Linked DNA regions of Homo sapiens: region 2 is linked to region 1. Evidence: promoter capture Hi-C in 16 types of primary human blood cells and fetal thymus (Javierre and others, 2016). All regions are on one chromosome and are shown on one strand. The core of a region is centred on a gene start or on the middle of the fragment in contact, and the rest is flanking DNA. Distances in the headings are between cores, read along the strand shown. Region 1 holds the start of ACVR1 (activin A receptor type 1). Region 2 has its middle 87 kb from the start of UPP2.

Region 1 (4,288 bases), core at 1,782-4,281:
GAAAGCTGTTGACTTTTAGAAATGAACATGTTGATCTGGGCGTAAAGGAGGAGGATATGCAGAAAACAGAAGAGATGCCAATTCACAATGCAGCAGGCAATTAATTAGCAAGAGTCGTGCTCCTTGAAACATATGATTGAGGAGATCTGAAAATCTTAGAATAACAGAAGATATATTTCCTCCAAGTAACTTTACTGGTGTGATTTTCCACCAGAGTTCAATCAATGAATTAGAGTAAGGTTGTGGTTCTCAACAGGAGGTAGTTTGGCACCCCCTCCCAGAAAATATTTGGCACTGTCTGGAGACATTTTTGGTTGTCACAACTGTGGCGGGAGGGTGTTCTGGCAGTTAGTAAGTAGAGGTCAAGGATGCTGCTAAACATCTTACAATGCACAGGACAGCATTCACAACAATTACCCAGCCAAAAATGTCAATAGTGCTAAGGTTGAGAAACCCCGGATTAAGGTGTCCAAGCCAAAGGGCTGTATCCTTGTGTGCACAGGGCTTGTGTGGAAGGCTGTATCCTGCTGGAGGAGTGGAGGAGCCTTTTGCCTCTTGCTTTACACACACACACACACACACACACACACACACACACACTTTATGTCGAAAGGCCACAAGTACTGTTACAGGACCCCAACACTTACCCAAAGGTAGCCGTTGGGTCAGGGTTTCTGCACTAAAGTCCCTTCTGTGGTTGCCAGGAATATGTTTTAGGGCAGGGGTCCCAATCCAGACCCCAAGAGAGGGTTCTTGGATCTCACGCAAGAAAGAATTCAGGGCGAGTCCGCAGTGTAAAGTAAAAGCCAGTTTATTAAGAAAGCAAAGTGGTGAAAGGACACCTACTCCATAGACAAAGTAGGATGTTGCCGAAAGTAAGAGGAGGAACGATTCCATGCTAGGTACATCGCTCGTATATATAGGGAGATGTGCTCTGCTACAAGAGTTTGTGATAAATAAATAAATTACTATATTTTGCAAGAATCAATATTATCTTTAAAGCAAAATTAGGAATGCCTTTGTTCTCCAGATATCGGGATATCTGGACACTCCCAAGTCTGGGTTTGTTTAGTAAACACTATTAATTTGTTCCCTTAGCTGTAAACATCTAGAGGCTAAGAAAGCCTAACTTCCCGAGAATGCAGCCCAGCCAGTCTCAGTCTCATTTTCCTAGCCCTCATTCAAAATGGAGTTTCTCTGGTTTGAATGCCTCTGACAGTACCATCCAGAATTCTCCCAGTCTCCTGGCACACTAGTAAGTCACAGGAGGTTGAGTTAGAGTGTTTTTCACTGAGCCAGCCATACAATAAGACCACTATTGAAGGAACTGCTTAAGGAACAAATAATAGGAACTGTTCAGAGCATAACAGGATTCATTAATTCATTTATTTACCTACTCAGCAAAACTTTATTGAACACCCACATGAACCCTTCTGCTAAACATTGTGATACATGATGAATACAATCAGACCTGGTCCCTGCCCTCTTGCAGCTTACAGCCTGGGAGGGAACTCTAAAGGTTACCAAGAAGGGCCAGTTTGTACAATGAGGACTCCATGAATGTACATCATTGAGCTTCACAAGCTTTCACGTTTGTAATCTCATTTGAACTGCACAACCACCTCACGAGACAACCTGTATTCCCTTCTTAGGTTAAAAATGTGCCCCAGTTCAAAACAGTTTGTAAGTGGCAGAGCTGACACTTCAGCCAAGTGACAATGAGGGCCCTGTTACATCATTCTATAGAGCAGGGATACATATAGGTGCTCTTGCCTTGATTGGTACTGAACTTGCCTCTCCTGCTCCTCACCAATCATACAGGTACAAAGCTCTCTTTATGAAAAAAATGCTCCCACCTACTCCATCCTTTTGCTTACAGCTGGGGATTCTAGTTTTTTCACGTATATATGCCTTGTATTTCTAATTAGATTGTAAACTCCCAACCTGCAGGGACCAGATCTTCCATTTCCTTTGCAACCTTTTGCAGTACTGCAGTCACCCAATAAATGCCCTCTGCATGAATGAACCTGTAGAGATAAAAATACTTTATGGCATTCCCATTTATAGGTTTCATGTTTTTATTCTGCTTTGTGATAGGACTGTACATTATAAGCTTCTAGAGGGCAGAGAAAATGGCTTAGTGCTTTCCTTTACACTCAGCAGGAACCATGCAAAATTTGATCCTTGCATGCCTTTTTGATGCTCTGGGTAATATTAGCACACTGGGGTGTTTTTGTGTATCTAAGGACCGAGGTTATCAGACTCTCTGCAGCGGAGAATGTTCCTGCATTTCCACTGTAAGCTCCCATGGCGCCTAGGACAGGGCTAGATCACTGCAGAAGCCCCTCCATGCTTATTTCTGTTACTAAGGAAGCCAAAGGCGAACATGGCAAGCTCTGTCATAACCCTAGACCTTGCAAGGAAATGAGCAAAGTGGAAGGGGATCTGAAGGCAGGTCAGAGATGGCCTGGATGAGAATGCTAAGGCTTCTCTCTGAGAATCCAGCCCAAGTCTGACATGCAGGGCTCGAGTAGGTGGCCGCCCGCAGTCGCCGGGCCCGGGATGCCCGCCCGTCCGCCCGCCTGCCCCGCGCGCCCTCGGGAGCTGTCCAGACGGCCCCGCCCGCGCCTACCTGGGCACTCACCCGTGCCGCGCGGCCTCTTCTCCTCCCACCCCGGCCACAGGAGCCCAGCTCGGGCCTGCCCCGCCGCCTCCGAGGAGCCCCGCTGGCGGCGCGCTCATAGCTTCCACCCGGGCCAAGCGACCGGCCAGACAGCGCCAGGCGCGCCGGGGGCGGCGCGGTCAGGCTCGGCGGGGCTCGGCGGGCTCGCCCTCGGCCGGGCGCCTGCAGGGGGCGCGGGGACGGCCCCGCCCCGCCGCCTCCTCTCTCCCCTCCCGGCTCCCTGGATCCGCGCCGGGAGGAAATGATGTGTTGCTGCCTGGTTAATCACAGCTCCAGACACTCATTGGCCGAGCGCTCCGCAGCCACTTCCTCCTCCTCCTCCTCCCGCTCCTCCCGCTCCGGCTCCTGCTCTTTGCAGCCGCCGCCGCCGCCGCAGCCTCCCCCTCGGCGCAGGGGGAACTTTTCTACTCTCTGTGACGGTCTCCCCCGCCGCCCCCGGGGGCAAGCCCAGCTGGTCCGCCCGCCCCGCCCGCGGTCGTGCTCCCAGCCCGAGCCTCTGCGCCTCGGGAAGTTTATTCTGCCCGCCCTCCTCCCCTTCCTCCTCCTCTTCACCCCGCCTCCCCGCCCTCCCCCGGCTCTTTCCCCCGGGTGGCTGCCGCTGCCGCCGCTGCCGCTGCCAGCCTGCTCCTCGGCCAGCCGCGCCGGCCCCAGGGCCGGGAAGCTCCCGGCCCCACGCACCGCTCCGCTGCAGCCACCGCAGCCGCCGCCGCTCTGGGCCGGCCCTCGGCCCCCGGCTCCCGGCCCCGCAGAGTTCCGGGCTCCCTCGCCGGCTGCACCGCCCCGCCCCGCCCCGCGCCGCCCCGCGCCGCGCCGACCTGCAGCGCCCGGCTGCCTCGCACTCCGCCTCCCCCGGCTCAGCCCCCGGCCGCGGCGGGACCCGAGGTGAGCGCAGGTCGCCGGCCGCGCCTGCTGGAGCCGGGAGGACTGAGGGAGGAGGTAGCCTAGCGGGAGAAGAGGCAGGGATCGGGGGTGGCAGGGTGGGCGTCTGCGGTGCCTCCCCCTCGCTTTCATTCCTTTCTCCCCCAAGCTTGATCCCCTCTCCGTGGGGGAAGCAGCCGCGGAACAAAACTGTCTTGCTTTGGGCCTGAACTGCTGGTGGGATATGGGGGGTGGGGGGGCAGAGGCGTGGAGCGGGGGTCTCAGGTTTGTATTGGGGTGTGTGTGAGTGCGTGTGTGTGTGTGTGTGTGTTGTGAACTCCTTCAGGGTGTGCGACTCTGACTTGTAAATCGATCTGGCCGCGGGGCCACGGGGCTTACCTTCCTAGCTGAGCTTGTAGAGAGTAAGGAGATAGATAGGCGAATTTCCCCCACCCTCAAAATATCCATCTCTTCCAAGAGGAATTTTCTGCTGGAGAGACAGCCAATAAACTCTGCTCAACTCCCTCCCTCCCTCGGTTCTTCCTAGCTGCAGTTTCAAAAAGCTTCAAAGCCAGGAATGTGGGATTCATCTTCCGATCCCCAGAAGGCAAATGTGGTTACAGATGTTGCACGGTACTTTGCCAAGTTTAAAACCCTTCCTTCAACACTGTAACCAAAACAGTGAGGCTAGAACCTCGGGCGCACTAAGAAGAGATGTGGGCCTCTGGGGCCGCTGGATTCAGTAAC
Region 2 (4,709 bases), core at 354-2,853, 140 kb before region 1:
CATTTCAAGATGCATCCCTGCTCCTGCTTGCTGCTGCTTCCTTCCAGGAGAGATATAAGTACTAAGATGACTTCTGTATTGCCCAGAAAGGTAAATTTATGGCTTAAATATGTTGTTCTATTATTCACAAGGTACCTCTGGGTCACCTTTGCTATAAAAGTGGAGACTATTTTTAAAATAAAGTTAGGACACACTCCATAAAAGTTTTACAACTCACTTAAAATCATAGAAGAGCTGTATATTTCAAGATGAAGATTTAAGCTCTGGTTATTTAACAGGGTCTTAAGAGGCAGGAATTGCTGTGTCAACTAATGTTGTGCACTATATTTCATTACTGCCTTTATGTTTTTTTAAATACCTCAAGAATAAAGTTTATTTAAAATGTCACACTTTGCAAACTGCACATTATATCCATAGAATATGCTAGTACCACTCCCATTCCTTTTATTTATTACAGTAGATTAGTTATGGACCCTCTGCTATAGTATCTTGGCTTATTAAGATGCTGCATGCTAAAAAGCATAGATGGCCCTGTAATGAGCAGTTACAAAATCAAGTCACCAATTCTTCCTTGGCTTTCTTTTTTGTTCAGAGGGAAAAATTGAGGATTTGACCTGTGCCTGAAACATTAACCACCTGATTCTGCTTGTGGGGTGGGGACAGAAAAGGGCCCTCTCAACACTTAATTATTGAGAAATCCTCCGTATCTCTCCAGGATTATAGAAAAGGATTAACAATCATCAAGGTTGCTTGAACAAATCTCAAGTTCAAATTCCAGAGGAAGACGGGATGGTCTAGGGTGATCAAAACCTAGACCCAGGGCTGGGTGCAGTGGCTGACACCTGTAATACAGCACTTTAGATGCCGAGGCAGGCAGATCACTTGAGGTCAGGAGTTCAAAACCAGCCTGGTCAACATGGTGAAGCCCTGTCTCTACTAAAAATACAAAAATTAGCTGGGTTTGGTGGCGGGTGTCTATAATCCCAGCCACTTGGGAGGCTGAGGCAGGAGAATCGCTTGAACCCAGGAGGTGGAGGTTGCAGTGAGCTGAGATAGCACCATTGCACTCCAGCCTGGGCAACATGAGCGAAATTCTGTCTCAAAAAAAAAAATCATCTAATTCACAAGAATTTTTTTTGCTAATATAAGTCATCCATAAACCTCTATGAAAGGTGAGCCCTTTATGAGACAACTTGATCCCTATAAAGTATTCAATAAACACAATGGGCACTAAAAGACAGTCTTAATGAAATGGGACAATTTAGAAATATTTTCTTAATTGACATCAAGAAAAAGTAATTTAAAAAAAAAATCTGTTAGTTTTTTTTTTTTTAAACAAGTGTTAGTGAGGATGTGGAGAAACTGGAGCCCTTGTGCACTGTTGGTGGCATTACAAAATGGGGCTACTGCCATGGAAAATAGTGTGGTGGTTCTCCAAAAAATTAAAAATAGAATTACCATATGACCCAGCAATTTCACTTCTGGGTATATGCGTTAGTCCTTTTTCATACCACTATAAAGAACTACCTGAGACTGGGTAATTTATGAACAAAAGAGGTTTAATTGACTCACAGTTCCACAGGCTGTACAGGAAGCATGGCTGGGAGGCCTCAGGACACTTACAATCATGGTGGAAGTTGAAGGGGAAGCAGGCACATCTTACCATGGTGGAGCAGGAGAGAGAGACAGAGAGCAAAGGGGTAAGTGCCACACACTTTCAAACAACCAAATCTTGTGAGAGCTCACTATCACAAGAACAGCAAGGGGGAAGTCTGCCCCATGATTCAGTCACCTCCCGCCAGGCCCCTCCCCTGACACGTGGAGATTACAATTCAAGATGAGATTTGGTGGGAACACAGAGCAAAACCACATCCGTATATAACTAGAGTCTCAAAGAGATATTTGCACATCCATGTTCACAGCAGCACTATTCACAATAGCTAGGAAATAGAAGCAATCTAGATATCCAACAACAGATGAATAGATAAACAAAATGTGGCATATACATACAGTGGATTATTATTCAGCCTAAAAAAGGAAGGAAATTATGTCACATGCTGTAACATGGTTGAACCTTGAGGATATCATGTTAGGTGAAATAAGCCAGTCACAAAAAAAGATCAATACTGTATGATTCCACTTATATGAGGTATCTGAAGTAGTTAAATTCATAGAAACAGAAAGTAGAGTGGTGGCTGCCAAGAGCTGGGAAAGGGGGAGTGGGAAGTTGTTGTTTAATGGGTATAGAGTTTTAGTTGTGCAAGATAAAAAGTTCTGGAGATCTGTTTAACAAGAATGTGAATATACTTAACACTACTAAACTGTATACTTTAAAATGGTTAAGATGGTAAATTTGACATTGTGTGTTTTTGTTTAATTATAATTTTAAATCTGTTAGTTTCTCTAATGATCATAATGAAGATTAATTAAATTGTGCTCAAAAGATGTATTATGGGATAGGAATACAGGTAATTTTATTCTCTTTATTGTTGCTGGACCAAGTTTTCTGCTTCCTACATATCAGAATGGCTAGGCATTGCAAAATAATCTATCACCATAGAATCTAAGGATTCTTTTGGAATATAAGCATCATTTTCAAAAGTAATTTGTGATTCAAGAGTTGCTTAGAACCAAATTTCCCTAGGAAACTGAATGATTTGGGTGTTTTGTTATGGGGTGGAGGGAGAAGATGTGGTGGAAGTTGGCATGATCTCTATTTGGGTGGGGCTCTTTTTGTATTTTTGATAGAGAATAGCTGTATTAATCAGTAGTGTATTATAGAAGGCATATGTCTTATGTTTCATTGCTTGGTTTTATGTTGTGCAGCAGCAATTTGCTAACCACAGTCCTGAAGAAATATAGCCACGCAGCAAAAGAAGCATTTATTTTCAGAAACACATTTCTTTTCTGACATTACAGGGGAGTGGGAGGGAAGGTCCAGATTAACTGTACTTTTTAATAAGAGATGGAGTGCTATTGGAAAACTATTAAGGAAATTGTGGCTTTAGCTCAGATTCAAGGAAGCCCATAAGAAGAATTTACTACCTTCCAGCTTAATACTGCAGCAGGGCCAGTTCTACAGACCCACTGCTCCCTGAATGATTCTGGAGAGTATTTGCGAGCTGGGGTTGTTCTAGGAGAGGCAATCAGCCGCTGATGAGCTCCCCTGCTTAACTTTCCTAATTGATTCCACCAGACCTCCTAGTAGACTAGTTGCTAACCCTGCCCCATCCCAACTCTGGCCTGGCTCTTTCTGATGGCAGTCTTCAGAGACCATTTGCCAGTTTGGAGTTAGGCCTTGGAGCTGCAGAACAGGCTTGTAAAGCAGATGCGTAGTAAATGCTGCAGCCAAATGTACAGCACATTTTCCTAAGTGGAAATCCTGTGTTACAGACAGAACATTACTTAACAGTAGGTGGGCAGTTCAATCCTAAACAGCTCAGTTCTTCCCCATCAGAGACCCTGCAGAAGCAGGCTTCTGCCACAGCTGTGGGAGGAAGAACAGTTCTTGTAACTGTTAGGAGCAGACAGTGGCTAAGAGAAACAGTCTCTTGGGAAGTCCCTGTCTGTGATTTTCCTACGTAAACACAAGAAAACAAAACCCCTGGGCTTGTCGTTCACACAAGCAAGCCGCACAAAGCTTTCTTTCCTTCATCTGCATGTGCTAGTGTGCTGTTCTTCCTTTAGGTTTTACTGCTGCTTAAAGGTGTTTTTGTCCAGATATGTAAAGGTGCCTCGCCCTTCTCCTTCTCAGGAAAAATAACTATTTATTGAGTGCCTGTTGCCACGCAGGAACTCTGTATCCATCATCTCACCTCTTCCTCATCAAACACATCTCTTCCGAGTGAGTTGCCAAATTACACTGCTGGCTTCCCAACCTGAGGTTTTGCTTCTGTTTACATTTTACCAGAGCAAGAGAGAAAAAGTCACAAATGATGTGCTGTCTTCTCATCTTACTAATCCCCTCTTCCCCAAGCCTTTCCACATCTAGAATTAAATACCTGGGCCTTGGCAGCCAGGCCAACCCCTAACATTGGTAAAGCCCAGGCAAGAGCACAAATGGATGCCCATATGCCTAAAGCTGTAAGAGTTATAATGCCCCTTTAATGCATCCTCATGTCCACGTTGGATATGTGCATTAAAATTCATGAAAAAGAATTATTGGCCAGGTGTGATGGCTCATGCCTGTAATGCCAGCACTTTGGGAGGCCGAAGTCAGAGGATCACTTAAAGCCAGGAGTTTGAGACCAGCCTGTGCAACATAGTGAGACTCCATCTCCACAAAAAATAAAACTTTTTAAAAAAATTAGCCAGTTTTGGTGGCAATACCTGTGGTTTTAGCTACTCGGGAGACTGAGATGGGAGGATTGCTTGAGGCCAGGAGCTACGATTGCACCACTGCACTCCGGCCTGGGCAACAGCAAGAATCTATTTCAAAAAAAAAAATAATAATAACAATAGCTTAAATTCGAAACAATCTAAATATTCAACAATGGGGCATTGATGAATTTTATTATAATATTTCTCCATATAGTAGGGTATGAGATCATCACTTAAAATTTTTAGTAATAAGTTATTTTGAGTTTAAGTGAATAAAGATTATTAAAGTGTCTTTGTAATTATTGTTTTGTTTAAAGTATATGTACACATAAAAACATGATCCAACAAAATAGTTACCATCTCCTTGTAGTGACTTCATAAATTATATT

Evidence for each region. The method cuts DNA at HindIII sites, captures the fragments that hold promoters and counts their contacts. A CHiCAGO score of 5 or more calls a contact.
Region 2: a contact is called between a fragment that was not itself captured here and the fragment with the promoter of ACVR1 in region 1, in 1 of 17 cell types (M1 macrophages). The highest score is 5.3, in M1 macrophages.

Annotation. Positions count from the first base shown.
Region 1 is chr2:157,875,073-157,879,360 of GRCh38, reverse strand. ACVR1 (activin A receptor type 1) reads left to right here and starts at 3,031. Exons shown (of 11, transcript NM_001111067.4): 1 at 3,031-3,565. It overlaps LOC105373714 (a long non-coding RNA gene), which reads right to left and starts at 2,777. Exons shown (of 2, transcript XR_923518.3): 1 at 2,645-2,777. RefSeq lists silencers at 2,470-2,659, 2,680-2,919, 2,980-3,199, 3,210-3,259, 3,350-3,559 and an enhancer at 2,790-3,084. The HindIII fragment of the contact is 1,597 bases long and covers 2,116-3,712 here.
Region 2 is chr2:158,012,750-158,017,458 of GRCh38, reverse strand. It overlaps a transcript of UPP2 not described here. Among named protein-coding and RNA genes, the nearest start is that of UPP2, 87 kb to the left of the region's middle. The HindIII fragment of the contact is 4,079 bases long and covers 1-3,642 here.